Regions from separate parts of the Homo sapiens genome. Here regions 2, 3, 4 and 5 are each linked to region 1. Evidence: promoter capture Hi-C in 16 types of primary human blood cells and fetal thymus (Javierre and others, 2016). All regions are on one chromosome and are shown on one strand. Each heading gives the region's core, a stretch centred on a gene start or on the middle of the fragment in contact. The rest is flanking DNA. Distances are from core to core; before and after follow the strand shown. Region 1 holds the start of TMEM151B (transmembrane protein 151B). Region 2 overlaps RSPH9 (radial spoke head component 9). Region 3 holds the start of MRPS18A (mitochondrial ribosomal protein S18A). Region 4 has its middle 28 kb from the start of MRPS18A. Region 5 has its middle 24 kb from the start of VEGFA.

The links. The method cuts DNA at HindIII sites, captures the fragments that hold promoters and counts their contacts. A CHiCAGO score of 5 or more calls a contact.
Region 2: a fragment that was not itself captured here is called in contact with the fragment with the promoter of TMEM151B in region 1 in 2 of 17 cell types (erythroblasts and neutrophils); the score reaches 5.7 in erythroblasts.
Region 3: a contact is called between a fragment that was not itself captured here and the fragment with the promoter of TMEM151B in region 1, in 1 of 17 cell types (naive CD4 T cells). The highest score is 5.2, in naive CD4 T cells.
Region 4: a contact is called between a fragment that was not itself captured here and the fragment with the promoter of TMEM151B in region 1, in 1 of 17 cell types (naive B cells). The highest score is 5.3, in naive B cells.
Region 5: a fragment that was not itself captured here is called in contact with the fragment with the promoter of TMEM151B in region 1 in 1 of 17 cell types (neutrophils); the score reaches 5.1 in neutrophils.

The regions. Positions count from the first base shown.
Region 1 is chr6:44,267,041-44,273,094 of GRCh38, forward strand. It overlaps TMEM151B (transmembrane protein 151B), which reads left to right and starts at 3,410. Exons shown (of 3, transcript NM_001137560.2): 1 at 3,410-3,837; 2 at 6,026-6,054. The coding sequence starts at 3,703. The HindIII fragment of the contact is 13,529 bases long and covers 149-6,054 here.
Region 2 is chr6:43,654,951-43,661,004 of GRCh38, forward strand. It overlaps RSPH9 (radial spoke head component 9), which reads left to right. Exons shown (of 5, transcript NM_152732.5): 3 at 612-741; 4 at 1,627-1,773. Among named protein-coding and RNA genes, the nearest start is that of RSPH9, 13 kb to the left of the region's middle. The HindIII fragment of the contact is 7,215 bases long and covers 1-6,054 here.
Region 3 is chr6:43,682,445-43,688,498 of GRCh38, forward strand. MRPS18A (mitochondrial ribosomal protein S18A) reads right to left here and starts at 5,347. Exons shown (of 6, transcript NM_018135.4): 1 at 5,224-5,347. The coding sequence starts at 5,335. RefSeq lists enhancers at 1,664-1,713, 5,101-5,160, 5,106-5,717. The HindIII fragment of the contact is 1,167 bases long and covers 2,233-3,399 here.
Region 4 is chr6:43,712,515-43,718,568 of GRCh38, forward strand. No RefSeq gene overlaps it. Among named protein-coding and RNA genes, the nearest start is that of MRPS18A, 28 kb to the left of the region's middle. The HindIII fragment of the contact is 2,271 bases long and covers 1,748-4,018 here.
Region 5 is chr6:43,743,065-43,749,118 of GRCh38, forward strand. No RefSeq gene overlaps it. Among named protein-coding and RNA genes, the nearest start is that of VEGFA, 24 kb to the right of the region's middle. The HindIII fragment of the contact is 2,604 bases long and covers 2,181-4,784 here.

The sequences.
Region 1 (6,054 bases), core at 2,160-4,659:
CCCCCATGACCAACAAAAAAATCCCATGGTCCTAAAAAAGCTCCTTGGCAATTACAGCTCAGAGTGGTTGGGATAAGACAGAAGTGAGAACAGGGTGTTGTGGGGGCACACAGTGGGGCCAGCTACTCAGTGGGGTGAGAGGCAAGGAAGCTTCCATTTGAACTGAGAATGGGAAGGGAAGAGAGATAGGGAGAGGAGAAGGACCTAGTCTGTGGGGGGCGATTGGAGGCAGAAGAGTTGGGGGAGGGCTGAGGGGAGAAGATGGCCCACTGTTCTTCAACCCCATGTAGGACCAGAGTGGGAAAGACGTAATGAGCATGAAGCCCAGTGAGGAGCCACGAGGGGAAAGGCCTGGGAAATTGAAGCATCTCCTTCCCTTGAGTCAGCATGATTTCAGATGTTCTCAGTCTCCTCCCCTGACATGTTCCTCTCCGGTCCTCAAAGGCTGCAGCAAAAGTATAGTAATAAACTCCAGACCCAGACCAACTGGGTTCAAAATTTGGCCGAGCGCGGTGGCTCACGCCTGTAATCACGCCTATAAACTTTGAGAGGCTGAGGTGGGTGGATCATTTGAGGTCAGGAGTTCAAGACTGGCCTGGCCAACATGGCGAAACCTCATCTCTACTAAAAATACAAAAAGTAGCTGGGCCTGGTGGCACATGCCTGTAATTAATCCCAGCTACTTGGGAGGCTGAGGCAGGAGAATCACTTGAGGGTGGAGGTTGCAGTGAGCTGAGATCACACCACTGCACTCCAGCCTGGGCAACAGAGTGAGACTCAGTCTAAAAACAAAAACAAAAACAAAAAAATCCACACGAAATCTGACACTATCATCCCCATTTTAATGTTGGGAAACTGAGGCCCAGAGAGGTGAGTTGACTTGCTCAAGTTAAAATAGAAAGTGCAGAGATGGCTTCTCATCTAATCCAAAACTTTTACATATTTTTTAGTGGAACCTTCTTTTCTTTATCAAGAGGTAAACCACATAGGGTGGGAGTGTCTGAGCCCTCTGCAAGGATGTAAGAACTCAGGAGTGTGCAAGGACCTCCTTTTTATTCATACAGAGGCTGAATTTTAGGAAAAACCCACTTAACCCAGCCAGGTGTTTGGCTCTGAGCCGTAACAGGTGTGTGGCAGTCCCTTTTATGGCCACATGAGGTCAGCATTGAGTCACCCACTGGCCCCACTACCAGAGCTTGCACTCTTGACAGGAATCCTTTCCAACACTCCAGGAATGGGGAGGGGGACCATTGCAGTGTTATCTGAAAGGGTGACCTGGGGACTTTGACTTAGGCCACAGCATGGCTAGGGACCTGACCTCGCCTCCTCAGCTCCAGTCTTCTCTGAGGCTGGGCCCCTCGTCTTTCTCTCTGTTGTTTTCTGGTTCCCTTTGTGCCCCCACTCCCCACCTCCACCCACCCCAGCTAGGCTCATCTTCAGGAAACAGGCCTGGTTTCCATGGTGACCAGCCGGTCAGCTGGCTCCTTCCACCGCCCCCTCCTTCACCCCCCTTTCTTGTAGCTTCCAGGGAAGGGTACTGTGTGTGAATGGAGAAGGCAGGGGTAGCCTTTTGTCTCTTGGGAGCTCTAGCATTGGCCAAAAAGAGCTAAACTGTCCCTCCTCCAAAGCCCTTTGAAGTGGAGACAGGAAGGCAGTGGGGGTGGGTGTCAAGAGGAAGATTATGGTGCCTAAATGGGGAGCACGAAAGGATCCTCTGTGGGTTTGGAAAGGCCAAGGTTAGGGGCTCTGCTCTCTGTGGGGGAAGGGGTTGAAACTGGAACAAGAGGGGCTGGAGTTAGCTGTGAGGCCAGCTTCCCAAAAAGCATGGGCAGGAGATGCTGGAATGAACCACCAAGTGAGATTCTGCCTCTGCCAAGGGAGTGAACCAGACCCCCGCCTCTTCTGGACAGCCGCCTTCCTCTGGGCAGGGAGAATGGACCCATCAACCTGGAGAGGACCATGCAGGCTGGATAGCTCTAAGCAATAGGTGGACAGAGAGCCACCTTCACCTCACCTGGAAAGGGAAGAGTAGTAAAATGAAGGCAGGGCCAGGAGTGGGACTAGAGGGGTGGGAGCAGTGGCTCTCCTGTCCCCAACAAGGGGAAGGAACATCCTGGGCAGATCAGTGTGTTTGTACCCTATCCCCCAAAATCAGACATCGAGGCTTTGCCCCAAACTAACTTCCTACCCACAAATATTCCCCATAGATTTTGAGTGGGAAAGATCTGAATTCTAGGACTAGCTCTGTGAGTGCTAGCAGGTGACCTTGAGTAAGCCATTCACTCTCCCTCTGCCTTGGTTCCCTGTGAGTAATTGGGGAGAACAGTTACTGTATGTCAAAGACTCTAATGACACATAGTAGGATTCCACAGTGACTGTGTATGCACAAGATTGATCATGCATGGCTTTTATTATATTCTTCATAATGGTTGTTTTTCATGTTCTTTTCTCCCCATTAGACTTTGTGCTCCTTGCAGGAAGGAAACTGTGTTTCATTTCTGTACTGGGCACACAATAGGTACCCAACACCTGTTTACTGAATGGAGACATCCAGAAATGAATGAATGAATAAATGTCAGGGTCCTTCCTGCTGTGCCAGGGGATACAGGGAAAAGCAGTGTGGGGTGGATGGCCTGAAAGGATAGGCTGCCTGCAGTGGCTCAGCCTGGCTTGCTTCCTACACCTACAAGTCAGAGCCTTAGAAATTGTCCAGTCAACTTCCTCACTGCACAGATGAAGAAATTAAGGCTCAGAGACAGGAAGGCACTTGCCCAAGGTCACATAACTCCTTAATGACAGATACAGAATTCAGAATTAGAACTCAGGTTTCCTGCCCTCCAGCCTAGGGTATTGCACACACTTCACTGCTTCTCTGGAGCTGTTCTTTTAGGGAAGAAAGATGGTTCAGTGAAGGCCGGTTCCAATGCCCTCCCCTCTGCCCTCTGTTAGTCCTTTCCCACATCTAGCTTCAATCTCTTCCCTTTCCCCCTATTCCATTCCTCTGGAAGTCTAGCTTCTGCCTTAACCCTTCACCACGAAACTGGGAGTAAGGATCTTCCCTAGGGTTCCAAGAATCAATTTCCTCTCCCCACTCCTCTGCCCTGGGAACTTGGGGGAACCAGAGATGTGTGTGTGTGTGGGGGGGTGCTGTTGGTTGAACCTCGGGCACCGAGTCCACGGAGAACAGATGGAGAGGGGTTGCGGCACAGATTCTCCCAGGATAGGAGCGCGGGAGGGAGGTGCAGTGAGCAGGGCTGGGAGCGGGGAAGAGGTGTGGGGAGTCCCTGTTGCTTTACCCCTTCGGGGGGTGGTTATTAGGTAGGCTTGGGAAGGCGGAGTTTGGGGGGCTGGGGGCGGGGCTCGGCTGCGCTGGCAGGAAAGGGGGGGCGCGCTGGCTCCAGCTCGGCTCAGACAAAAGGCGGCGGCGGGAGCGGGCGGGAGGCGGAGCGGCGCCGCGAGGGCCTCAAGGTGACACCCGCCCCCGGCCCCGGCCCCCCCCGGCCCGGCCCCCCAGCCTGCCTCCCACCCTCAGCCCCCAGCCCCTTACTCCCGGTGCCCTTTCCGGGCCCCCTCCCCCGGCGGGGGGTGGGGAGCAGCGAGGGCCCCGCCCCCTCCCGTCCTCTCCCCAGGGCCCGCGCAGGATGCCCCCGGCCCCTGGCAGCCCCCCGGGAGGTCCTGAGCTCGACGCGCCCCCTCTACGCCATGTCCCCCCCTGGCTCGGCCGCGGGAGAGAGCGCCGCCGGCGGCGGCGGCGGCGGTGGCGGCCCCGGGGTCTCGGAGGAGCTCACGGCGGCGGCGGCAGCGGCGGCGGCGGACGAGGGCCCCGCCCGAGAGGAGGTGAGAGTCTAGGGCGCCCCTTCCCCGGGCGCGGCCGCAGCCTGGCCCCCCATCCCCCATCGCACGCGTCCCCCGCTGGTTCCGCCGCAGCGCGGCCGGCGCCCCGCACCCCGAGCCGGCCGCTGCAGCCGCAGTCCGCGCCGCCGCCCCCACCCGGCGGCCGGAGCTGTCCGCGGTGCCGGGGAAGGGGCCGCGCCGGGGGCGGGGCTCAGGGGTCCCGGGCAGGGGGAGGGGCCTAGGGGCGGAGCCTCGCGGATCCTGGGCTTATGAGAGTGGGGGCTATGCTCTACCGGGGTGGGGACGGTGGCGGGGATCCTGTCTCACAGAGGAGGATGCTACCTTGAAGGCCAGGAAGGGCGGCTTGTACGGGCTACAGAACGAGGAGGGTACCATGGGGAAGTGGTGGTGGTACCTGATCTGGGACCCTAAGGAGGTCAGATGTGTACGGGGGGTCCCGCCTGTGGTCATTGGGAGTGTGTGTGTGTGTGTGTGGGGGGGGGTGTGCACCTCTCTCTCACGAGGCTCCTGCTGCTTCCTCATATCCCTAGTTGGGGTCCCTAGTACTCAGTCCTCTGAACCTGAAGACAAAGAGACGGAGGAAAGTACCAGGAGCACCCCCACTCCAGCCTCCCATGCACACTTGTGCACACGCATGCACCCTGTACTAGGGCAGAGGCACACAAGCGGGGATGGGCCTGCAGGTAAAGCCCCTTTCAGAGGTACCCACATGGGGACAAGCACATAACCAGGTAGGCACACGAAGGGGCCCGTATGTTCATACCTCCTAAGGACAAGGCTCCCCGAAAGGCACATGTACCCTAATCTCCTTGTCCACATGTACTGTGTGCTATTTCCTAGCTCGCCTAACTATCCATACTTCTAGATCCAGGGACCGATGCCTATTACTGTACCCTTCTTTTCCACTCTTTTCCTCTCTTTCCTGGCTGGCCTCTAGGTCAGGCCTGAGGAATTGAGGGGGTAAGTCAGGATCCCAGCAGGAGGTTGTGTGTGTGTGTGTGTGTGTGTGTGTGGTGGGGGATGGGTTCCTAAAGCTAGACAGCACAGAGGAGGGGTGGGAAAACAGAGGCCACTACAAGAAATTAAACTCAACACTCAATTAGGATGTGGCTGCTGGGGGCCAGCACCATGGTAGGCACCTAGGATGCAAAGAGAATGAAGCATGGGCCCTCAGGAGTACCCAGTGTAGTGGGGAGCCAGACATGTAAACAACTCCTGGGCCAACCCTGGGACAGAATGTGCCAGGAGCTTTAACAGACAGGCTCCAGGAGAGTACCAAAAATAATTTTCTCTTGATAAATTGCTGGGCTTCAAACGTTGTCCTCGCTACCCCAGTCCCACATCCCCTATGCCTGTCCTCTCCTCAGCCACATGCCTCTGCCCTTCTGGATACCTCCTCCTGGACTGCCTGCCGCTCAGGGACCCCAGCCCCCTCCCTCCCATCCTAGGACAAAGGGAAGGATGTCAGGGTGCAGGAGGGAGACTCACAGGGGAACCAGGGTCCAGAACATGGGGAATGAGACTGGGCCTGGGGTTCTCTGGAGGCCCTTATCCAAAGGACGTGTTAGGCTAATTGTGAGGGTTAGGGAGGTGGATGGGTCAGAGGGGAGTAGCTCCTCTAGAACCTAGGACTGAAAAAAATCTGGAAGTGAGGGCCCCACTTGTTAAGTGGGGAAGTGATGTCAGTGGGTCCCTCCCCCTTTTCTAGAGGACCTGGAAGGGGTCTGGGCTGGGGACCTTCCTTCGCTGATGCCTGTCTGTCTGTCCTCCCCTGTCTTCCCTGTCCACATCTTCTGTTTCATTGCCATTTTTGTGTTTGTCTTCGGATGCTCTCTGGGTACCATCCTATCCATCTGTGTTTGCTGCCTGGGCCTCTATCTCTGGCTCTGATCCTTCTCTGCCTCTTGGGGTGTCTCTCTCTGCACTCTCCTGTACTGGCATTCCGGTCCCCTTTCCTGTCCTCTGGCTTGCTCTGTGTCACTTCTGTTTCTACCTCTGGCCCCTGGCTCCCATCTTGGTCTCACCTTTTCTCTCCATATCCCTGTTTCTCTCTGCCTGTTATCTCTGGTGCTGGCCTCTGCCCCTCCATCCCCGTATCCATCTCTGTGCTGGGTCCTGCCTGCTCTCACTTCCCACTCATCTTGGCCCCTCTCCCTGCCCACCTGAGCAGCAGCGTCCCATCCAGCCCTCTTTCACCAA
Region 2 (6,054 bases), core at 1,518-4,017, 610 kb before region 1:
TGCAGTGAGCCATGATTGTGCCACTGCCCTCCAGCCTGGATGATAGAGTGAGACCCTGTCTCAAAACAAAAACAAAATGACAGCAACAATAACAACAAAACATGAAGAAAGTATACCAATATGTTATCAGTGATTATCTTTAGGAGGTAGGATTATGAGTGGTTTTAGTTATCTTTGGTATGTCTTTCTATATTATCCAAATATTCTACAGTGAGCATGATTACTTTTATATTTTAAAAAGGCAAAATAAGCAACAGTTAAATATGCTGATAGGATGGTATGCCTCTGGAAGAGTACATGAGAAACCTTCAATGGTGGCTGCCCCCAGTGAGGGCAACTAGGGTCTCGGACTGGGGTGAGAGAAAGACTGATTTTTTCCTGTAGTTTTGAATATCATACCACCCTTATGTATTACGAATTAAAAAACAAATAAAAAGAAAGGAAGAAAATCTTGATAGGAAGGAAGGCGAGGGCCTGCCCAGCGTGATCTGTGTGGCTCTGGGGTCCACTACACTGCAGTGGTGCGGGTGAGATGGCCGTGCAGAGGGACCTTGCGCCGGGGTGCCTGGGCACAGTGCCCTGGCAGGGGGGCTCCTCTCCTGTCTCCTCAGGTCCAGATCAAGGAAGAGACCCGCTTGGTGTCTGTCATTGACCAGATTGACAAGGCTGTGGCCATCATCCCCCGAGGCGCCCTCTTCAAGACCCCTTTTGGACCCACCCATGTCAATCGGACCTTTGAAGGTGAGTTCTCTGGGGCCCCTCTCAAGGGCTGGGGGTATCTTTTCCCAAGCACAGTAGAACATATGTCTGGGAGTCCAGCAGGGGGGCTTACACACTTTATCAGAGAAGGAGTAGCTGTGACCTTATCACCTGGGAGGGTGTGCCCAGTGACCTGGCACCAGTGGTCGGTATGGGCTCCCCATCTCCTGGCCCCTGACTCTCTTCAGTTTGAGGAGTGGGAGAGCATATAGTCCCTTGGTCCCAGGGCTTTACATGGGTCTGGGCTACCTGCCTTTTCCTATCTCCTTCCTCCTTGGACTTCCTTCCTTCCTTCCTTCCTTCCTTCCTTCCTTCCTTCCTTCCTTCCCCTTCTTTCCCTTCTTTCCCTTCTTTCCCTCCTTCCCTCCCTCCCTCCCTCCCTTTGTTTCTTTCTTGATGGTGTTTTGCTCTTGTCATCCAGGCTGGAGTGCAGTGGCACAATCTTGGCTCACTGCAACCCCTGCCTCCTGGGTTCAAGCGATTCTCCTGCCTCAGCCTCCCGAGTAGCTGGGATTACAGACACCCTCTACCACGCTCGGCTAATTTTTGTATTTTTAGTAGAGACGGGGTTTTGCCATGTTGGCCAGGCTTGTCTCAAACTCCCGACCTCAGGTGATCTGCCTGCCTCGGCTTCCCAAAGTGCTGGGATTACAGGCATGAACCATCGTGCCTGGCTGGACTCTCTTTGTGGCAGGATCTGGTCCGAGTTTGGACTGAGGGAATGCTAATCCCTTTCCTTCCTTTAGCTCTCTGACAGTGGTTGACAGGGTCTTTTGTAAGCCCTACCATGTGGTCCCAGTGCAGACAGAAAGGGGGCTGGGGGGTTTTGGGCTAACCATCATTTTCCTGCCTGCCACCTCTTTCTAGGACTGTCCTTGTCTGAGGCCAAGAAGCTCAGCTCCTACTTCCATTTCAGGGAGCCTGTTGAGCTAAAGAATAAGACCTTGCTTGAGAAGGCTGACCTGGACCCCTCCCTGGATTTCATGGACTCCTTGGAGCATGACATTCCCAAAGGTAATAGTCCATTACCTGGAGGCCATGGGATCTGTCCTCAGGCCATAGCAGTGGGCCATGCCACCTGCCATTTTCCTCTGAGACTGGAACCAAGGGCCTAGTGGGAATTGGTGGTTCACCATGGGTTTTTGAGGGTGGAGCTTCCCCAGGGCCCAGCTTATAGTACACACTGATGAGTGTCCTTGAATTACAAAAGGTAGGATTGTTTTCCATATGCTTTCACAGAGAGGAGGTATCTCAATGTCTCTTGATTTTTGTAGCAATCTTGAATGGGGGCAGGTTGGGAATCTTCTCCCAAATATCCTTGAAAATACTAGCCATACTTACATCTCAACTGTTACTTTTGGGATTCTGGTATTTAGGGACTGGATATAATGCTTGGCCCATAGCTGGTGGTGCTGATCCCATTTCCTTCCCTTGAGCATCTCTGGTAGAGAAGAGCATGTCCTTGGATTCTATGACCCAATTCAGGTTCTAGGCTCTAGGCCATCGGGGGCCAGGCCCAAGGCACAGACTCAGCGCCCCACTTCTTTCTCTTCCCTTGTTGGGTGTTCCTGAGAATGAGAGGGATCTAATGATGATGATGGCAATGATAATGACAACAATAACAACTAACTCATGAAATGTGACACTGCTTATCATGTGTCAGGCACCGTACTCAGCTCTTGCCATGCCTTATCTCATTTTAATCTTCACAGCCAGCCTATTATTTTTATCCCCATTTTACAGATGAAGAAACAGGGGCTCAGAGAGTTAAACCCAAGGACACAGTAAGTGTTAAAGTGTTAGACTCCACAGTTCTGGCATGAACTGGATTGTTAAGTAAACAATAGTTTAAATGACAATAGGAACCACAGGACAATAGTCACCCACACCTCTAGGGGGAAACACTTCTGAAGAGCAGCAAGCGACCCAACTGGGGGGTATCTCAGGATGGGGATGGGGATGACAAGGGCTGTGGAATCAGACAGGCTGGGTTGGAATCCTGAATTGGCCACTTACTAGCTGTGTGACTTCATGCAAATCCCTCCATTTCCCTGTGCCTCAGTTTCCTCATTTCTAAAAAGGGGAGAATTGATATTTTCTACCTCAACGAGTTATGAGAATTAAATGGACTACTCCTATACCACCCTGAATGTGCCTAGTCTCTTCTGATCTTGGAAACTAAGCAGGGTCAGGCCTGGTGAGTATTTGGATGCAAGAATTAAATGAGTTAACTCATGCACAAAATGCTTATAACAGTGCCTAACACATAGTAAGGACTCAAATGAAAATGAACACACCAGCCGGGTGCGGTGGCTCACGCCTGTGATCCCAGCACTTTGGGAGGCCAAGGTGGGCAGATCACTGGAGGTCAGGAGTTCGAGACCAGTCTGGCCAACATGGCAAAACCCCGTCTCTACTAAAAATAGAAAAATTAGCTGGGTATGGTAGCACACGCTTGTAAACCCAGCTACTCAGGAGGCTGAGGTAGGGAGAATTGCTTGAATCTGGGAGGCAGAGGTTGCAGTGAGCTGAGATTGCGCCACTGCACTCCAGCCTGGGGCAACAGCGCAAAACTCCGTCTCAAAAAAAAAAAAAAAAAAAGAAAAAAAAAAAAAGAAACGAACATATCTCAGAGATATTGCAAATTTGGCTCCTGACCACCATAATAAAGTGAACATCGCAATAAAGTGAGTCACACATTTTTTGAAAAGTTGTGTTTGTACTATACTATAGTTTGTTAAGTATGCAATAGCATTGTGTCTAAAAATGTTAAAAAAATTAAAAATTCTTTATTTCGTAACAATACTAACGATCACCTGACCCTTCAGCGAATCATAATCTTTTTGCTGGTGGAGGGTCTTTGCTCTGTCGCCTGGGCTGGAGTGCAGTGGCGCAATCTCGGCTCACTGCAAGCTCCACCTCCCGGATTCATGCCATTTTTCCTGCCTCAGCCTCCCAAGTAGCTGGGACTACAGGCGCCCGCCACCATGCCTGGCTAATCTTTGTTTTTGTATTTTTAGTAGACGGGGTTTCACCTTGTTAGCCAGGATGGTCTCAATCTCCTGACCTTATGATCCGCCTACCTCGACCTTCCAAAGTGCTGGGATTACAGGTGTGAGCCACCATGCCCAGACATGCCCAGCTAATTTTTGTATTTTTAGTAGAGATGGGGTTTCACCACATTGGCCAGGATGGTCTCGATTTCTTGACCTCGTGATCTGCCCGCTTCAGCCTCCCAAAGTGCTGGGATTACAGGTCTGAGCCACCAAACCTGGCTTACGTAATATTCTTAATCCTTTGTTGTTCTCATTTCAACAATGTTCACAGCATCTTCACTAGGAGTGGCTTCCGTCTTAAGAAACCACTTTCTTTGCTCATCTGTAAGAAGCAACCCCTCATCCATTCAAGTTTTATCATGAGGTTGCAGCAATTCAGTCACATCTTCAGGCTACACTTCTGAATTCTAGTTCTTTTTCTTCTTCCACCACATCCGCAGTTACTTCCTCCACTGAAGTCTTTTTTTTTTTTTGGAGATGGAGTCTCGCTCTTGTAACCCAGCCTGGAGTGCAATGGTGTGATCTCGGCTCACTGCAACCTCCACCTTCTGGGTTCAAGCAATTATCCTGCCTCAGCTTACTGAATAGCTGGGATTACAAGCACCGGCCACCATGCCCGGCTTTTTTTTTTTTTTGAGACGGAGTCTCGCTCTGTCGCCCAGGCTGGAGTGCAGTGGTGCGATCTCGGCTCACTGCAAGCTCCGCCTCCCGGGTTCACGCCATTCTCCTGCCTCAGCCTCCTGAGTATCTGGGACTACAGGCGCCCGCCGCCACGGCTGGCTAATTTTTTGTATTTTTAATAGAGTTGGGGTTTCACTGTGTTAGCCAGGGTGGTCTCAATCGCCTGACCTCGTGATCCGCCTGCCTCAGCCTCCCAAAGTGCTGGGATTACAGGCGTGAGCCACCCCGCCCGGCCCATGTTCGGCTAATTTTTGTATTTCTACTTTTTACTTTTATTTTTATTTATTATTATTATTATTTTTTGAAATGGAGTCTCACTCTATCGCCCAGGCTGGAGTGCAAGTGATGTCATCTCGGCTCACTGCAAGCTCCGCCTCCCGGGTTCACGCCATTCTCCTGCCTCAGCCTCCTGAGTAGCTGGGATTACAGGTGCCTGCCACCATGCCTGGCTAATTTTAAAAATATTTTTAGTAGAGACAGGGTTTCACCAAGTTGTCCAGGCTGCTCTTGAACTCATGACCTCAGGTGATCTGCCCGCCTTGGCCTCCCAAAGTGTTGGATTACAGGCGTGAGCCACCATGCCCAGCCTGGCCTTTTTTTTTTTTTTTTTTTTTTGAGACAGAGTCTTGCTCTTTTGCTCAGGCTGGAGTGCAGTGGTGTGATCTCAGCTCACTGCAACCCCTGCCTCCTGGGTTCAAGTGATTTTCCTGCCTCAGCCTCCTAAGTAGCTGGATTACAGGCATGCGCCACGATGCCTGGCTATTTTTTGTATTTTCAGTAGAGATGAGTTCACCATGTTGGCCAGGCTGATCTTGAACTCCTGACCTCAAGTGATCTGCCCACCTCAGCCTCCCAAAATGTTGCGATTACAGGTGTGAGGCACTGTGATTGGCCCTCCACTGACGTCTTGAACCTGTCAATATCATCCATGAGGGTTGGAATCAACTTCTCCCAAACTCCTGTTGATGTTGACATTTTGACCTCCTCCCATGAGTCATGCATATTCTTTTTTATTTATTTATTTATTTATTTTTTGAGACAGAGTCTTGCTCTGTCACACAGGCTGGAGTACAGTGGCATGATCTCAGCTCACTGCAACCTCCACCTCCCGTGTTCAAGTGATTCTTCTGCCTCAGCCTCCCGAGTAGCTGGGACTACAGGCGCCCATCACCACACCCAGCTAATTTTTTGTATTTTTAGTAGAGATGGGGTTTTACCGTGTTAGCCAGGGTAGTCTCAATCTCCTGACCTAGTGATCTGCCAGTCTCGGCCTCCGAAAGTGCTGGGATTATAGGTGTGAACCACCGCACCTGGCCAAGTCATGAATATTCTTAATGTCATCTAAAATGATGAATGTTTTCCAAAATGTTTTAAATTTACTTTGCCCAGATCCATCAGAGGAATCATTATCTATGGCAGTTATAGCTTTATGAAATGTCTTTTAAAAATAAGACTTGAAAAGTGAAGTCACTCCTTGATCCATGGCTGCAGGATGGATGTTGTGTTAGCAGGCAGGAAAACAACATTAATCTCGTTGTACATCTCCATCAGGGCTCTT
Region 3 (6,054 bases), core at 1,566-4,065, 590 kb before region 1:
CCTCATTTGTCTTCTGGGCAACCCATTCATAAAGACTCACTGCTCCAAAACAACCAACCTGAGAGCCTCTCAGTGTCCAACTCCAGACATACAAAGGAATAACAATGGCTAGAAAAGCCCTGAGGCTTTCTCCAGAGAACACTGTAGTTACTAATCAATTCAAAGACAACCTAGGTTTTTCCATGTAAAAGAAAATGGGTCACCCCACACACGGATCTACTTGTACAGAACACAGACCAACCCAAGAATGGGATTTGGGTGAGACTCAATGTGGTCCTCAGTCTGGAAGCCAGCACAGCTGCAGAGGGAAGGTCACTGCAATACGTCAATCTGCAGAATCAACCTACAAACGGAGGATGGGGAGAAATGAAGGGAGGTAGGAGGAGGGCACATCCCCAGTCCAGTAGGGGTTCCAGGCACCCTGCAACTTTGCTAATTTGCAAAAACCAAGTTGAGAGACAACCTAATCTGAGCAACAAGTAGTGGGGAAAGTTTCTAAGAATCCCCAAAGGAACCAAAGGAGAGACACGTTCTGGTACCACTGGAGTCGGCAGAAGAACAATGCCTTGAAACACAAGTGGATAAACATGTGGTTCCCTGCTTGGTGGAGGCACTTGGGTCCTAACCATGAGGTAAACAAGTCTAACAAAACACACATCACTCCCGGCAAAGTACCAAATCCTGAAGTCATCCCACTGGCCCCTGGAAAACAGATCAAAGCCCATGGCAAGCTCCACTGTTCACAAACTCCCCCTCCACGCAGCAACTGTGAGCCAGCGAATCATCTTACTAGAAGCCAGTGGGTAAAACAATAGGCAGATGCTTATCTAACAGAGACAATTTGTCAAACCAGAAGGAATGACCTGAGAACTCACATTGAACTGACACTGATCAGGGTGGTGTCTTAGTGCAGGGGGAGAAGGCCCTGTTGGAACCTGGTCCTTGAGGCCCTTAGTAGATTTTAAGCCCCTCGAAAGAGGAGATAGGAATCAAAATAGTATTGATTTACAGGGTGCATACAAAAACGTGTCAAAACCAAACAAAACCTGATCCATTTTGTTCCTGGCTGCCTCCCTATTCAAGAGAAGTGGGGGTGGCTAAGAAAAGCTGGACTGAGAGATTTAGGCAGTAACAGAAAACTTGTTTAGAAAAAGATGGAATCACCCTTGTGTTCTGAGATATGGCAGTATCAAGTAAGCTAAGGGAAGAGATGAAGCAGTTTTCTAAACTGGAACTAAGGGCCAAAATCTTTCCAGATAAGCACTTCTCATACACATGAAATAATCTGTCCCCAGTGAGGCAACACATTTGCTGGGCACTTATGGACTATACAGCTTCATTCTACCTACTGTGAATTACAGTAGAATAGGAGCCACAGTCTTTGCCCTAGAGGAGGAAAAGAACTAAACTCTGCATGGGAACTTGACTATAATAAAGTCCATGCCTCGTAAAGAGGTCCTTTGAGTACTTCAGTAAATACTTGCCCAGGATGGAGTCCAAGATAACTGAATTATAACAGTGTGGAACAAATGACATTGTGGTGAGATTGCAGTGAATGCAAAAGGAGGAGATGGGGTGACACCTATAGTCTCAGCTACTCAGGAGGATCACCTGAGCTAAGGAGTTAGAGGCCAGCCTGGGCAACACAGCAAGACCTTGTCTCTTAAACAACAACAACAACAACAAACACAGAAAATGCAAAAAACCTTGATGGCCACATGAACAGACACAGTGAACTGCAGCCATGTAAAGACTCAACTGCTTAATAAAAGAGGAAGTGAAAAAAGATGAGGAGTGCAGGGCACTGCTGAAGTGCCCAGAGACCAAGGTCCCTCTTGGAGAGGATCTGTAAAAACCAGGGCCCAAGCAGAGTAGGAAAGACTGGAGTAACTGATGGCTGGGCAGTGGCCCTAATAGTCTTATGTAGGGTCAGGGAGAGGTGTGCCATGTTTGGGATGTGTGCTTGCATTTCTGGCCACTGACAACTTTTTGCAAACACCTTCCTGCCTCAAGCCCTGCTTCCTCCAGTTCATCTTTAACTCTACCATTAAAGTTTCTGGTTCCCTCATCACCTCCCCCTTTCTTTCCCTTGGACCCCTGAGGGAATGTCCCTCTGCCCTATGCTTCAGAATGAGTCGTCTTACTGCTGCACAAAAATTTCTTCCCACTAGCAGGTTACTCTGGACTATGTCCCCTGAATTCTTTAAAGACTCCAACTCACTCCTCTCTCAAAGCTTTTATATGGGACTGCCCAACCTGCCAGGCATACCCTTGTCTGAAACGTTAGGTCTTCCAGAAGGCCTTCTTAACTGACTGTGAAAGAGATGAAGCAAATTCCCTTTGGCCTTTACTCACTTCAATATACCTTTCTCTAAGTGTCTGACAAATCATGTCTTAATTTATATAATAATATGTTTGTTTTTTTATTTTAAATACATTTCCTTCACAAGGGCTCTAAGAGGGATAAGGGAGGAATGAGATCCAACACAGTCTTTGCTAAATCTGGCAGTGCCAACCATAATGGCACTAAATGGTCTTTGGCAAGTTAACTGCTAAGAGCTTTCAGGGAAGGAGGGAACAATAAGGGAGGCCCTGCCATGGAATACCAAGGTGATGTTACTGGTGGAGAGGGAAGAGGGCTGGCTCTACTTCCAACTCCATCACTTATTAGACAGGTGATGCTGGGCAAGCTATTAAACCCCTTGGAACGGCATTTCCTCATTTATAAAAATGAGGACAGTTAATATCTACCTTTAAGGTGTTTTTGAGAAGACTGAATAAATGTATGTGGAAAACCTAGCACAGTATTTGAAGCAGGCACAGTAAGTCACAATTTCTATTTTCGTCCTCCTTCAGTCTTGCTTTTCCCATAATAACCTTTTTTTGGCTTTGTGTATCTCTCTGGTCAAACTTTAAACCAGGCTTTCTCAACAGCAGCAGGACTGCCATTTTGGGCCAGATGGTTCTTTGTTGTGGGGAACTGACTTGTGCATTATGTTTAGCAGCGTCCCTCGCCTCTACCCCCCAGATGCCAGTAGTACCAGTTGTGACAACCAAAAATGTCTGCAGACATGGCCAATTGTTACTGGGGGACAAAATTGCCCCCCAGTTGAAAATCACTGTTTTAGACTGAAAGTCTTCATAGACAGGAAAATTGGTGCTCAGTCCTCAAGAGCTGACTAAAATTATGTATTATTATCTGATACTTTGAAAAGTAGGATGCCTGAATATTTTCAGCAAGAGAACCAGCTTCTTTCCCACAACTTTAAATTCTATGTGTACAATATTGTTTGGGTGTCACATATACCAGCTGAGACTAGTCAAAATTAGCTATATGTATAATACTTTATGCCTTACACATAATGCATAGACTAGCAAAAGAAAATGTTTTCATTTACAAGCTTTGAAGATAGGTGATTCTTAAGAATATAGAATATGGTAGTGCCTTCATGTAGAATCATATTAATTCAACCTAACATTTAGATGAAGGACTTCAGAGACCCATTTGATTTACAGTCCATCCTTTTTTACTTTTTTTAAAGAGGTGGGCGTTCTCACTACGTTGCCCAGGTTAGACTCCAATTTCTGGGCTCAAGTGATCCTCCCACCTTGGCCTTCCAAAGTGCTGGGATTAAAGATATGTACCACTGTACCTGGCTTACAGTCCATCATTTCACAAACTCTCCAAAGGAAAAAATTAAGTCTAACTTCAAATATTTGTTGTTAAAACAAAACGATTCCTCTTGCCTTTTTTTCTGGAAGCATAGCAAAATCTGCCTCAACTTTGAATTTCATAAGAATATGCAAATTGTAGCCAATAGTGTTTGACACTTGGTAGACTCCCCAAAATGGTATGGAGATATGCCTATTTTGCAGCATGGGAACAAATGAAACATCCAAGTCCTCTCTATCATCTGCATGATTTCTTTAGTGTCTTTATTAATGGGTCTACTAATGGATAAGTTAATCAGGCAATATCCAGACTTTTTTTTCTAGCAAATGCTCCACTTCCCTTACGGGCTAAATTCTTCAAACATACTTACTATTTCCATCTCTTCATCAACTATCTCTTTCATTTCTCCAAACTGGATTCCTTGTTTGCCACTCTATTGAAATTGCTGTTTGAAAGCTACAAAGAGACCTCTTCTGAGACAAATCCAATGGCCCCTTCATTAGGCCCTTTTTAGACTTTTCTGCTCCCTCTGACAACAATGATCACTCTTTTCCACTGGATACTTCTCAGCTTTCGTTAAAGGATATGCTGCCCAATACTATGCCAGATCCTCAAAAAACCCCACATCTCTTCTTTTGCACATCACTCATCCTTTCCTGCTTCCAGGAGTACACAAAGGAAGGCTATGTCCTAAAAGACCGTTTCACTCTCCGCCAGATTCCATCCTTTTGTGAGCCTGCTCAAGACACATCCTCTTTATGAAAACTTCCAACTGGGTTTGCCGTTTCCAGTAACTGAGTCTCCCTGTACTTCGTCACGTAAAAGGCTAACTTGCATTTATTGGAGTGTGTATATACATAATCTCATTAGAACCTAAGCTTTTCAGAAAAAGGGCTGTATTTTCTGTCTCCAGAATTCCTTCACAGCTTGAAGCATAGCACTTGGCATTCAGTAAACTCTCAGTTGATGCTCGAATCAGGCCGCTTTCCCAGATTAAGATTAATGAAAAGCTGAACTACCATCCTGCATTTGCCTATGTCTCAGCTATTCAATGGCCTTTCCACTTTGGCCTCCCCCTCACAGGGAGACTAGCGGCCCGGGGCAGAGAACGCCGCCATCAGATCACAGCATTTTGAGAAGGGAAAGTGGAAAGGGAGGCTCTGGGAGGGTACCCAGATGGCCTTCCTTCGTGATCCAGAGACTCTTTAATAAAAGAGACTGCGATTCGGAGAACATGGAAGGAAGAATTAACATGCAAACCCTTTCCGAAAACTTTTCTGAGCCCTAGGACAGGTTTAGTGTCTGCTCCTGCTAAGTAAGCAGGCTTTTCTCTCCGTCCTCCTCCGCCTTGTGAAGATACTCACAAGGGGCAGGAGATCAAGATAAGGCACCAGGGTGTGGAAGGGGCTTTTAAGCACGCCTGGGGAGCCGGTACCTCCAAAGTTTCAGAATCGGACGAAGGAAAGGTAGGAAGGAGCGCACCGGGGCTGGCGGAAGCAGTCTCTGCCGCTCTTCTTAATTTCAGGAGGTTGCTGGGACGCATGACTCACCTTCCCTGAACCCGCGAGCTGGAAGCCGAGACCAGCTGGTCGCTGCCGGGCCCGCTAGTAGCCCACGGAGAAGCCGCCCACAGCCGGACACCAGAGCCTTGAGGGCCGCCATCTTCAAAAACCTACCCTGACCTCTCGTCCATTTCCGCTTCCGGAACGTAGCGCCCGCCGCCGCAGTGGTGGGGCAGGAACGGCGGGGCGGGGTTGTAGTTCGCTTGCTCCTGTCACATCATTTCTCTCACCTGTCCGCTTTGGGATACGAAGAGAGGCTTCTGCGTCAAGCCTATATTTCGTGTTAAGGATCTAGGGGAGGTCTTCTAGCTCCTGTCTGCCAATGCCTACAAGTCTTCAAGGTTGCATTCGTTTCCTGGAAGGCTTCCTTAGGAAAATCGCACGCAACACCCCACCTATGTCTTTAAAGCTTTCTCTTCACTGCACGTGAGCTGTGGACTTTTAGCTTCTGTGACTGGGGCTAGACCTCTACGGGAGAGGCTGAAATGGTTAGGAACTCTGGCTCTGGAGTATCGGATATCAGGCAGACCTGGGATAGAATTGATACCCCCTTCTTCCCTGACCACTGCCACACTGATCTTTGATTTGCATATACTTAGACCTCTCTCTAGCCCCAGGGCCTTGATACAAGCTATTTCCTTTGTCTGCTCTTTAGCTGTCTAGTTAGCTTCTGCTTATTTCTTAGAGCTCACCTCAAACCTTATTTCCACAGTTTTGCTTGACTGCCCATTCTCAGCACCAGATGCCTCTCCATCTTAGTGCTTGGGACAATTTCAGTTTTATGTTTGTTTTGTATGTGTCTTCTCACCAGACTGTAAG
Region 4 (6,054 bases), core at 1,633-4,132, 560 kb before region 1:
ACAAACAAACAAACAAAAGAGATAGTAGACAGTGCCTAGCACGGAAGAAGCACTCAGTGAACAGTGGTTAAATAACGGCAAAGAACTAACCTGGATTGGCTCCTGCAGATCAGTCATCAAATGGGTTAAGCGGGTGTGGATTCGAGGAAAAGCTAAGAATGGAGGCTAGGAGCATGTGGGATGTGATTTCATTGCTCCAGAGGGACTAGAGCTTGTCGGGCAACAGGAAGGGGAATGACTTGTGAAAGGGGGTGTAGGGGCCACCCAATTGCAGGTGACGGAACAGCCCCTTGGGTTAGGGCTCAGCAGCTGTTCTCTGTGTCCCAGCCAGGATAATGAGGGGGAGGCTGTCTGGTTGCCTGGGGACACAGGCCCTTTGCGCAGTAGCACCAGTAGGAGATACTAACCAGTTCTTCATTTATTAAAATTCTTCAAGTATTAAAGTCTTCTAAGGGGAAAATCCAGGATTTCCTCAGCTTTTCTCTCAGGCCCAGTCCATGGCTTGGTGTGCAGCAAGTCTTTAATAAATGTTAGCATCGGCCAGGTGCCATGGCTCACGCCTATAATCCCAGCACTTTGGGAGGTTGGGGTGGGTGGATCACCTGAGGTCAGGAGTTCAAGACCAGCCTGGCCAACGTGGTGGAACCCCATCTCTACTAAAAATACAAAAATTGGCCGGGCGCGGTGGCTCACGCCTGTAATCCCAGCACTTTGGGAGGCCGAGGCGGGTGGATCATGAGGTCAGGAGATCGAGACCATCCTGGCTAACAAGGTGAAACCCCGTCTCTACTAAAAATACAAAAAATTAGCTGGGCGCGGTGGCGGGCGCCTGTAGTCCCAGCTACTCGGAGGCTGAGGCAGGAGAATGGCGTGAACCTGGGAAGCGGAGCTTGCAGTGAGCCGAGATTGCGCCACTGCAGTCCGCAGTCTGGCCTGGGCGACAGAGCGAGACTCCGTCTCAAAAAAAAAAAAAAAAAAATTAGCTGGATGTGGTGGTGGGTGCCTGCAATCCCAGCTATTCGGGAGGCTGAGGCAGGAGAATCACTTGAACCCGGGAGGCGGAGGTTGCAGTGAGCCAAGATTATACCCCAGCACTCCAGCCTAGGCAACAAGAATGAAACTTCACCTCAAAAAAAAAAAAAAAAAAAAGTCAGGTGTGGTGGCATGCACCTGTAATCCCAGCTACTTGGGAGGCTGAGATGGGAGGATTGTTTGAGCCCAGGAGGTGAAGTTTGCATGCAGTGAGCAGATTGCACCACTGCACTCCAGCCTTGGTGACAGAGTGACATCCTGTCTCAAATCTGAAAAACAAAAAAAAAGTTAGCATCTGTTCTTCCCTCTCGATATACAAAATTGTGGTTAGATCTTATTTTCAAGAATTGCTATGAAGATTACGCGCAGTAGTATATAAGGAGGCATTTTTGCAGCAGCGACATTTAACCCCCAGGATAACTGAGTTCAGAGATGTCAGATAACCTCCTGAATGACACAGGTACTACGGGGTGGAGGGAGGTTTGGGACAATTGGAGCCAGTGGGAGCTGTCAGTGCCGGCGGTGGGGGTCTTCAGCAAGTTTAGAAAGTGAGGAGGGCAGCGCTGGGCAGAGAGGAGGGCAAGTCAAGTCTCTAGGCAGGGCATGGCTTTGACGGCAGGCCTCACAGTAAGATGGGTGTGCTGGATTCAGGATCTAGACGGTGAGATCCCAGAAAGTGAGGCAGGTAGTGGAACCAAGGGAAGACCTCTCTCGAAGCTTCTTGCCGCTCTTAGAGATGAGGGAGCGAATGTTTTTGGGCATGGACCAGACTGTATCTCCCAGAACTCTCTTGGCAGCCTTGCCAGAGGGGTGCTGTTCTCCCATTGCACAAATGAGGCTGCTTAGGCCTGGAGAGGGTAAGGACCTTGCTCAAGGTTGTACAGACTGACAGCGACGGAGTCAGGATTGTGACCCAGCTTTGCTCAACTACAAAGACTGCCCTCTTTCCACTACACCATGAGGTCACCGTGACCCCCAGGAAACAGGGGGATGGACAATATCAGATGACCTTTTAAAGATCTTTGCCAGCAGAAACATTTTCTCAGTCTCTGCTCCTTGGTCTCCCTCCACACTCACCCCTGCCTCCTCCCGCTCTCTTCCCTCCTCATTACTCAACCAGGAGTAACCCCACTGGCTATCTATCTGTGGGTTGGGGGAGGAGACCAGCAGCTGTAGTTACTCAGATTAACCCTCTGCTGCCTGCCCACCTCCCCTCCACCCCATGGATGTGTTGGTGAGGAACCCCCCTCCCCGCTCCCCTGCAGGCAGCCACTGGCTGAGGGGCACTTCCCAGAATTAGCCACTGTGAACAGCTGGCTGGGGGGCGGGGTTGAGGGGGTAGGTGGTAGAAAGGAGGCTAATAGCTTCCAGATGTGCCAAGGCACGAGAGCCTTGGGAGCTTCAGTTTCAGTGGTCTCCTGTGACTGGGATGGGTTGGCCCTCGTGTCCAGGACTCCAGAATTACTAAGGCAGCCAGGCAGATCCCGACTTTCAAGCTGCATGCAAATCTGTGTGCAGGGTAAGGTTGACCTCCAAGCTGCACCTGCAGGGGCCCCGGGAAAACCCCTGCAGCCCAGCTGCTCTCTGTGGTATTAATACTAACACCATCTACCATGTCTACACTGCCAGTAGCATAGGCAACAGAGCATGGTAGTTTCGAGTGCAGGGTTTGGATTCACAGCGCTTAGAATCAAATCTCAGCTCAATCTCTCAACCAGTTCTGGGACCCAAAGCAAACTGCTCAGCTTCCTTAGCCATGAAATAGTTTCTATTTCATAAAGTTATTATTAGTATTAAATGAGATAATCTATGCAAAGTGCTTAATGCAGTGCCTGGCACATAGGAAGTTGTTGTCATTTAGAGAATACCTACCTTATTTCAGAGGCTATGCAATTTTATCCTTGCAACCCTGGAAGTTAGCTATGAGTAGTCTTACTTTTATGAGGCTATATCAAGGCTCAGAGAGGCTAAGTTACCTGTCCAGGATCACACAGGTGTCAAGTGCAGGGTTGCAACTTGAACCCAGGCCAAATGAACCCTAAAGCCCAGGCTCATTATCCTGTGCCCCTCCCTGTGTGTGTGTGTGTGTGTGTGTGCGTGTGTGCGCATGTGTTTTACATTTTCCCATCAGTAGAAAGAGGTTGTAGGACCTGCTAGGGGCTGAGGGCATCATTTTCTGTCCTGCTTACTGAAGAGAGGCCTGACCCAGAAAAGTAGGCAACAGCTTGGGGGTTCAGAGGGGCCCTGGAAGAAGGCAAGTGCCCTGGAGGGGACACCAGGGACAGGAAATTTCAGGAACATGGAAGGAGCAGAGGACAGAATATCAGAGGTTGGGAGAAGTCCAGGTTGTCCTAGGGTGCCCTCAAAGAGTATCCAGAGCCCCCATGAGCGGATCCTCAGGAGCCACTGACTGCCCTTTCCCTGGGTGTGTTTCTTGCTTTGCCAGTTGCTGCTCCTCTTCTGCACGTCTTCTCCTTGGCTAGTGCAGGGTGGTGGAGGGTCTCCAGAATTCCCCTTTACAGGATGGGGAGGACGGGAGACCAGGGAGGAGGAGAACCAAGAGCGAAGGGGCTGGAGCCAGCCAGCAGGGAGGCCCGCCATTGGCCCAGCTCCCAGGGCCTGGGCCTGAGGACTACGGAGCTGCCTGCCCCTCACCATTCCCTCCCACTGCCCCCTAGGGCTCCTTGGCTGCTGAGCCTGCCAGATGGGCCCCCGCCAAGCCAAACAGCTGCCAGGGGGAGAGGAAGAAGCATTTCCGAGCAGAGAGGCCCCTGTAGGCTCCTGCTGAAGCCTAGAATCCCCCTTTCTCACCGCCAAGTGAAGGGGGAATCTGTGCACATGCACATAGGCATGCACGCATGGCACTGGGGAGCCCAGGCGCAGGGCCACGGGACCTGGGACATGCAGGGGCAGAGGGGTGGGGGTCTGGAAGCAGGCTTGGGCAGGGACCATGGCTGTGCCAGGTAATAGGGAGTCTGGGGAATTAAGCTTGGCTCACTCTGAGGTTGGGGAATGTAGTGGATTGAATAGAGACCCCCAAAGTTTATGCCCACCTGGAACCTGAGCATGGGACCTTATTTGGAGATAGGATCTTTGCAGAGGTAATGAAGGTGAGGATTGAGATGCGATCACGCTGGATTAGTGTGGGCCCCAAATCCAGTGAAAGCGTCCTCCTAAGAAACAAGTAAAAACACTGAGAGACGTGGTGGGGACAGCCGTGTGAAGACGCATGTGAAGGTGGTGTCAGAGACTGGAGCCCACAGCCAAGGAATGCTTTGAGCCACCAGAAGCTGGACAGGAACTTGGCCCTGCTGGCATCTCAATTTCAGACTTCTGGCCTCCAGAACTGTGAGAAAATAAATTTCTGTTGTTCTAAGCCACCAAGTTTGTGGTCATTTGTTTCGGCAGCTCTAGAAAATGAAGACAGGGAGGCATATGGAGGAGGGTTGGGGTGGGGGGAGTGGGTAGGTGGAGGCTTCATAAGAAAGCCTTGGAAAACAGGATACAAAATATTGACCATTTATCTTGCCACTATTCTGTGCCAGGCACTTTTAAAGATATTTATCTCTATCCTCACAATGACCCTGCCACAGAGAATTATGGTTTCCATTTTACAGTGAGGTTCAGACCCAAGTGAACTCCATTTAGTTAGGATTCCAACCCAGGATCCTCTGTCTCCCAAGCCTGGCCTCTGTCCACCTTCTTTCAAGGGTGGCCCCAGTAGATTCCAGGGCAGATGACACTTGCTTTCAAGTTGGAGGGGTCTCCAGGAGTCTGAGAGGGGAACATAATGATGCTCTACTGGGAAACAGGGGAAGAGGCCATTACTGCTCTGGGGGCCTGCTGTGCTGGATGCCCTAGAAAATCTCGACTCACCACGATGTTCCTGTAGGCCTCAGTGACATGGCCAACGGTTTCTTCATGGTCCTGTACCCTACAGAGGGAGGCATCCCTACTCACCTCATTCCCACTATGACAATCACATCACTCCCTCCACCACCATCGCTGTCTCCATCATTGCCACCTCCATCACCACCGCCATCACCTTCACCATCATCCCCTTCACTGTTACCATCACCACCCTGAAACTGCTATAATGGCTGTCACGACCAGTACTTCTGTGTCCATGTCACCATCTCCATCACAACCCCTCTACCCCCACTACCATCACTGCAAAATGGTGGAGAGGTGAGAGGCCGGTAAGTCACTCAGGGAAGGACAGGACAGCCGAGCAGGATTTAGCAGGGGAGGAGGAGGAGGTGGGATGTGTCTGGCTGACAGACAGGGTCCATAGTGAAGGACTGCCCTAGGTTCAGCCTTGTTGAGAGGGAGGTGAGTCTGCCTGGCTGGAGTAAACACTTGGTAGGACAGGCTGTCTTCGCGGGCGTTGGTTTGGGTGGGTGGAGGCTATTCTAGCAACACATCCTGCCCCTGCCTGGCTCACGATGGTCTCTGGGGGATGTGGATTTTGGCGGGTCCCTGGCTCGTGGCCACCTGCCTGGCCTGGCCTGGCCGTAGCAGTGAGGTCATGAGAGTGGCTGTACTGGGAGTACTGGGGAGTGGGGTGGAAAGGAGGGGCGCGCCCTGGCTGGGAGAGGAAGGCCTCTCTCCCCTGGCTGACTCTACCCATAACGATCATAACGATGAAGTAAGCACGAGCCTGGACACTCCATCTCCCCAGACTGCCCTCCCTCCGGCCTGCCCAGCTTGCCCCGGGCCTGGGTTCTGGGCGCTGCAGGCTCTCTCTGCCAAGGGCTCTGGGTTTCCCATTCCCTGGTGACATCTTGATAGTTGGATCAGCCACCTGAGGGAATACAGGGGCCAGAGGCTCTGATCTGGGTGTAGGGAGAGAATTGACTGTGGAGAAGGGCGTACTATTTCTCCACACTTCCTCCTTGTTAGACTCAATATGCCTGTGTGTGGTGTAGGGAGATGGTGGCAGAATGTTCCAGAGACTCGGGCCCCAGCCGCTCCCCTCACCTCTTCCCTGCACACCTGGCCACCTCCACTGCCTTTAGAGAC
Region 5 (6,054 bases), core at 2,233-4,732, 520 kb before region 1:
GCCCTGCCCTCAGAACCCTCTCAGCCTGCTGGGCTATAATGTCCCCCTGCCCCCACCACACCACATCCCTCTTGCCTTGAATCCCAGCTTCATCCAGTGGAGACCTGTGGTGTGCCTGTCCTTCATCAGACTGGGGTGTCCCCCTGAAGAGGGAACAGTGTGTGGTGAGCTCTTGCAGGGGGCCCTTTGCTCCCCTCCAGCTGCAGAGCACCGGCTAACCTTGTCCTCACTCCCCCTGCTACCCAAGCAGGCCCACGGTTGTTTATGGTTCAAATGCAGACCCCAGGGGCTGAGGCCTCTCCAACACCCAGAACTGAGCTGTCCCGTCCTCAGCTTTCCAAGAACAGGCTCTGTCGAGCACACATGGTTGTGAAACGATCCTGCTGGGCTCTCTAAGAGATGAGGCCATTTATGGGCTGAGTGGGCTGCCGTGGGCTGCCAAGGGTCAGGCTGGGGACCTGTGTGCGTTGAGACTCTGGTCAGTCTCCTCTCTGCACACAGCCTCCAGGAGCAAGGGCTAGACACAGACGGGCATTCTTCCCAAGTTTAATTTTGAATATGCTTAAATTATTTTAAAAGCAGTCTTGCCATATCAGGAACCCCAAATTAAACTCACACGTATGTTCCTGCGGGATGGGGAGCTAAGGCCTTCCCACTAGGGCTTCTCCAGAGCAGAAGACACAGAGAGGAAAATAGGCTTTCCAAGTTGGAGGGCAGGACAGGTTGCATAATTTGTGGGCCCAGTGAAAAAAGAAATATGAGTCCCACATTGTGCTGAGGAGAGATCTGTGGCCTGAGAGGGGAAGGGCCCTGGCCTCTGCTACCCTGGGAGGCAACATCACAGCCAGGAATGGGGCCTGCCGCTCTTACTCCTTAACCAGTGCTCACCCCAGGCCCAGCTGTGCCAGGAAGGCCTTGTTTCCATCCTGGGCCTTCGCTTGCCTTCCCCCTGCTTATTCCTGGGCCTCCAAAAAGCTTCTCTGTCCCCCAAGCTCTCCTCTTCCAGGAGGTCTTCCTTTCCTGTTTGGACAGTTTTACCTGCTGGTTAGTCCCATGCTTCTTCCCCTTTCCAGGCTCTCTCATAGCTTTGCCCTTGACCTTCTGAGCCTTTGTTTACTTTTTATGTGAGTGACAGAGAGCAGCCTCCTTCCTCCCTTGGCCATAGTTCTTTGGGGGTCTTCTTCATCATACTAGGAGCTCTCTGAGGATAGGGCAAGCTCTCCTTTCAGACTGGGGGTCCCTGGGGTTGGAAGTCTTTCTTGGGACTCCCCCTAGGCTTCCCTTGGCAGACCCAACGTTGCACTAGAGGGGTGACTGTGCCTGGTGTGGTGCCCAGTTGGCTGTGTGTGTGCACACGTGTGTGTGTGTATGTGTGTATTGTGTGGGGAGGGTTTGCTTTTGGTTTTCCATCACCTTCCCTGTCCTTTCCTGATCAGATCCTCTGAGTGAGGCTGGTTAGGGAGATGGAGCTTGGAATGAGGGAGGAAGATGGGGTGGTATGGCACCCCAGCCCTACGTCCGGCCAGGGCTCCAATGGAGTGTGGGCAGCATGACCTTCTTCCTGGGCCTCCCGCTGGGGTGTGAGGGAGGAAGGCCGGTCTTGAGCTGGGGTCAGGGTGGAGAGGGGCAGCCTTTCAGCTGAGGTCCGTCACTCAGAGGCAGGGTCCGTGGCATTTGGCCGGCAGGGGAGAAGGGAGGGAATGTGAGGAATAGGCTGACTCAGCAGTTGCCCCCTCCCAGCTCTGGGGACAGGCGCTGGGGGAGGACTGATTGCTGAGAACATGCAGATGGTGGTGGCAGTTCCTCTGGGTTGTGTTTTGAGGGGAGGGCTGGGGAGAGATAGGAGTCAGAAACACCAGAGTCCCCCAGAAATACTGGGGAGGCATGAAAGGGAGCTGGAGGAGGGGAACCCAGGAGAGGGTACCTTTTGACATTGCCATAGCTGTGAATATCAGTGACATGCAAAGGAATGCCCCAAACACGAAGAAGGCCGCTCCTTTGTGGGGATGAGCTGGGGACAGTATGAGGAGAGGGCTTGGCTAGGGGGCAATGGGACCTGTGAGGGAGTAGAGGGTGTTAAGAGTGAGCCAACAGCCGCCCAGCCCGGCCCAGCCGAAGGGGAGGTAGACGGCAGGCCTGCTTTTGCCGAATCTAGAGCTCCTCTCTGCAACTTGATCGTAAGCTTCATTAAGGCAGAGGCCGTCTCATAACATCTCTTAATTATCTGACAACCCCTCCACAGGGCTGGGCACATATAAGCATTGTGCCCAAGTTTAATTTTGAGTATACTTAAATTATTTTTCAAGCAGTCTTGCAATATCAGGAACCCCACATTAAACTCATACCCATAATCCCAGCTATTTACTTTTCTCCTTGTACCTTCCAAAATCTTTATAGGCATGCTTACGTAAGGGTGACTTAGGTAAACGCGGCCTGAGTCAGGCTTTTCCACCAGCTTTGCCGGGTGCACTGGTTGACGGGGTGTAAGTGTGTGTATCGGGCTCCTTTGCTCTGAAGTAACCCTTGTTTGCAGGCAAGGAGAGCTGGGGGCACCCTCACTACCCAGTCTCCATGCTCTTCCCTCTGTTTACATTGCTGCCAAGCGGGCACCTGCTTCATTTATATTCTCACTTGAAACAACTCTGACTTATGCAAAAATGGACTTACTTAAGATTTACCAGAACAGAATACTAGCTTGATTTGGGGACTGTGTGTGTGTGGCAATGGCTGGTTGATTTCAGGTAGTGATTCCCAAACATTTTGAGCTGGAAAACCCTATTTTAACACTAAAAAACAAAAACAAAAACAAAACCTTCAGAGAACTCCAAAAGACAGTGATTGTATAACAGATATTCATCATCTGAGAAAAATCCATGAAGACAACAAACTGTGGTGAAGTTAGAAATAATTTGAAATTATCACATATTATTGATCTCCATAGTATCTACATAAGTTTGAAAGAAAAATAGCAAATGCATTCAGGAATATTATTCACTTGACTATGTGAGCAAAGATGTTCATGACAGCATTATAATTTAAAGTCAAATAACTAGGGTCTGTTGGGAGATATTGTCCCCTACTTGGGTACGTGACTCCACCATGTAAATGCAGCACTGTACTGTATGGAACTGTGTATATGTGTGTATATGTGTGTGTGTATGTGTGTGTGCGTGTGTGTGTGTGTGGAGGAGGGCACATGTGAAGAATGGGAAGGGAATGTATTAGAACACAGTGTTTTGCTTGTGAAAATTCAGTGGTCTCTGGGGGAGGAGGGGGAGGTAAGTGACAGGAAGGAGCTGTGCTGATGGCTGAAATCTGTGGGTGCTGAGAAGTCCTTTCTGAGAGCAAAGTTAGTGTCTGGCTTTGAGTTCTGGGGTGGGGAGAGGAGGCTGAAGAGGCAGGCAAGAGCCAGACCACACAGGTTCCGGTGGACCATGTGAGGCAGAGAATCCTTATCCTTAGAGAGGAGATGTCGTCTCTGGATGTGGTGTGAGACAGCCGGGAAGTTCCTCCCTACACGAAGATCCTTCTTGCTGTGTGTTTTTCCCCATCCCCTCTTCATTTCTCTGCATTTTACATCACTGCTCGCTGGGCCCAGGGCAGCTCAGTGTAAATCTTCAATCTGCAGTTCCAGGAACCCTGTTTCCCAACCCCCAAAATCTGGGCCTGAGGTCTGACAAGTCCCAGAAGAGCTGCGGGGATTATGAGGCAGGATGTGTAAAATCAGGGGCGTCCAGGAACGTGGAGCTTGACGGTAGCAGGAGGAGTGGAGAAGCTGGCCTGGGACTGACTCCCATTCCCCTAATTTGGCATCCTGCCCCCTCCCTTGGGGGGCTGGGAGCGGTCAGCTCCAGGCTTCCCCACGTCTCCACGGCTCCGCTGCCCGTGCTCTTCTGAGAGCAACGTGCTGAGGGAGCACTTGTGAGCCATGAGGGCAGGAGTTGGGGCAGGGGTCAGGGTGCTTTTTAATTTCTCGTTAGCAATGACAGCTGTAGAACTCAAGCAATTAAGGAGGACGACTCCCCCAGGATGCCAGAGGGCCAGCCCCCCGCCAAGCTGTGCACAGCTTCCTCCCTTCCTCCTTTTCCATGTCCCCCCTCACCCCCATCACAGGCTTCCCCTCCCTGGGCCCAGGAAGCTGTGAGCCACTGTTCAGGGGAGGAAAGGGGTGCAAAAGTTCCCCTTCCAACACTTTAGCAGGGAGAACAGAACAAAAGGAAGATGGAGGGGCTCCTGAGTCTGGAAGCTGCTTCTTCCTCCCTATGGTCCACGCCTGGGGGTGGGCCCGTCCTGTGGAAAGGGGTCCACTCTCTTCAGAGTTGGTATTGAGGATGGGGACATAAAAATGACCAAAGGTTGGCTGGGTGTGGTGGCTCACGTCTGTAATCCCAGCACTTTTAGAGGCCAAGGTGGGAGAATCATTTGAGCCCAGGAGTTTGAGACCAGCCTGGGCAACCATGGGCCATGGTTTGAGACCATGGGCAACATGGTGAGACTCGGTCTCAAAAAAAAAAAAAAAAAAAAAAAAGACCAAAGGCATAGCAATTTTTCCTGTGCTTCTAAACTGTTCTTTTTTTCTAAGATCTATAGGGCATTCAACTTCTCTTGAATTTCTTCTTCATCATTTGGCTGGAGCTTTTCAGCAGCCTACTCCAGATCCTGCCTACCGCGTGGACTTGTTCCGTCCCCACCTGTCGGGGGAGGGTACATGTGTTCAATGCTATGCTTTTATTAACATCAGTCTTGCTGCATGGGCGGGGACATGTTTTTGGGTGCAGGAGCAAAGCTTTATATCCCTGTCCAAACATCTCACTCCACCCAGCAGCTGATACGTGAAACCCTACCATTAATATTTGCCTCCTTTACGGTCATCTCCTTGTGAAATTGCAAACACTCTTGGGAAGGAAACCTCTTCGGCATGAACAAAAGATCTGACAGCTGACATTGATATGGAGTAACAGGGGTGGGAGGCTTGCTGGCCAAGATTCCCAGGGATGGGGAGGAGTTGGGGGCAGAGGGTTAAAGAGAAGAGTGGACACACTTCATAGTTTTCCCCTACTGCTGGTTAAGTCTTTAAAGCCTGGAAGACTAACAGACCAGCTGTCTTCTCTGACCTAAAAGAAAAGACATCCTTCTCATGTTCATGGTCATGACCATTGCCATCAACAGCCTCATATGGATGTTGAACACCAATGATGCCTCAAAGACATTAAACACCTGGCCCTTGCTCTCAAGATGCTCACAGCTCACTATGGGGCACCCCGCTCACTTGAGTGTGCAATGATGAGCCTATGAAAGTTTTAGAGGAAGGGCTTACATGTACCAAGTGTTATCTAAGGGAGATTAGCCAGGTGGTGGTGACCAAGGTGGATTGAGCACAGGGCAGAAGAGATGGTGAAGCTTGCTGGGAGCCCTTTGCCATCACGCAGGTGAGAGCTGAGAGGCCTCAGATAGGCTGATGGCAGTGGGAACACAGATGCTAGGACTCATAGAAAGGCATTTTGGAAAATCAATCTCCAGGACTCTGACTATGGAGAGGGTAACAGAAGGAGGAATTGAGCATCAGCCCAAGGTTCAGAACTTGGGTCCCCCAAAGATGGTGGCAACAGAAAGGGAAGTCTGTTGGAGCCATGTTTGAATGGAAGGTGAGTTCTGGTGCAACATGCTGCATTTAAAGAGAGGTCGTCCTACCCCATGCCCCACCACAAACAAGGCAGGACTGAAGGCAAGCTGTGCATACACAGAATGCAATTTTTCTGAAAGAACTTCTACAAATATCAGCAGTCCTTCAAAGTGGTCAGTACAAGAGGCCAGGCAAGTTTTCCAAAGAGCTCGCCTTTGTTCAACACATTTTTTACTTATTTATGGGATATTTCTTGTGTGTCCACTAGGTGCCTGGCGCAGTCTAGTGCAGGAGACATGTAGACTGTTGGTTTCTGCCTTTAGGGAGCTTACTCTCTAATTAGGGTGATATTAAAGTCAAACTCATAAGAAAGGGTCTGTGTATCTATGACTTCCCATCATATAGAACATAATAGCTTTTTTATTGCTGTG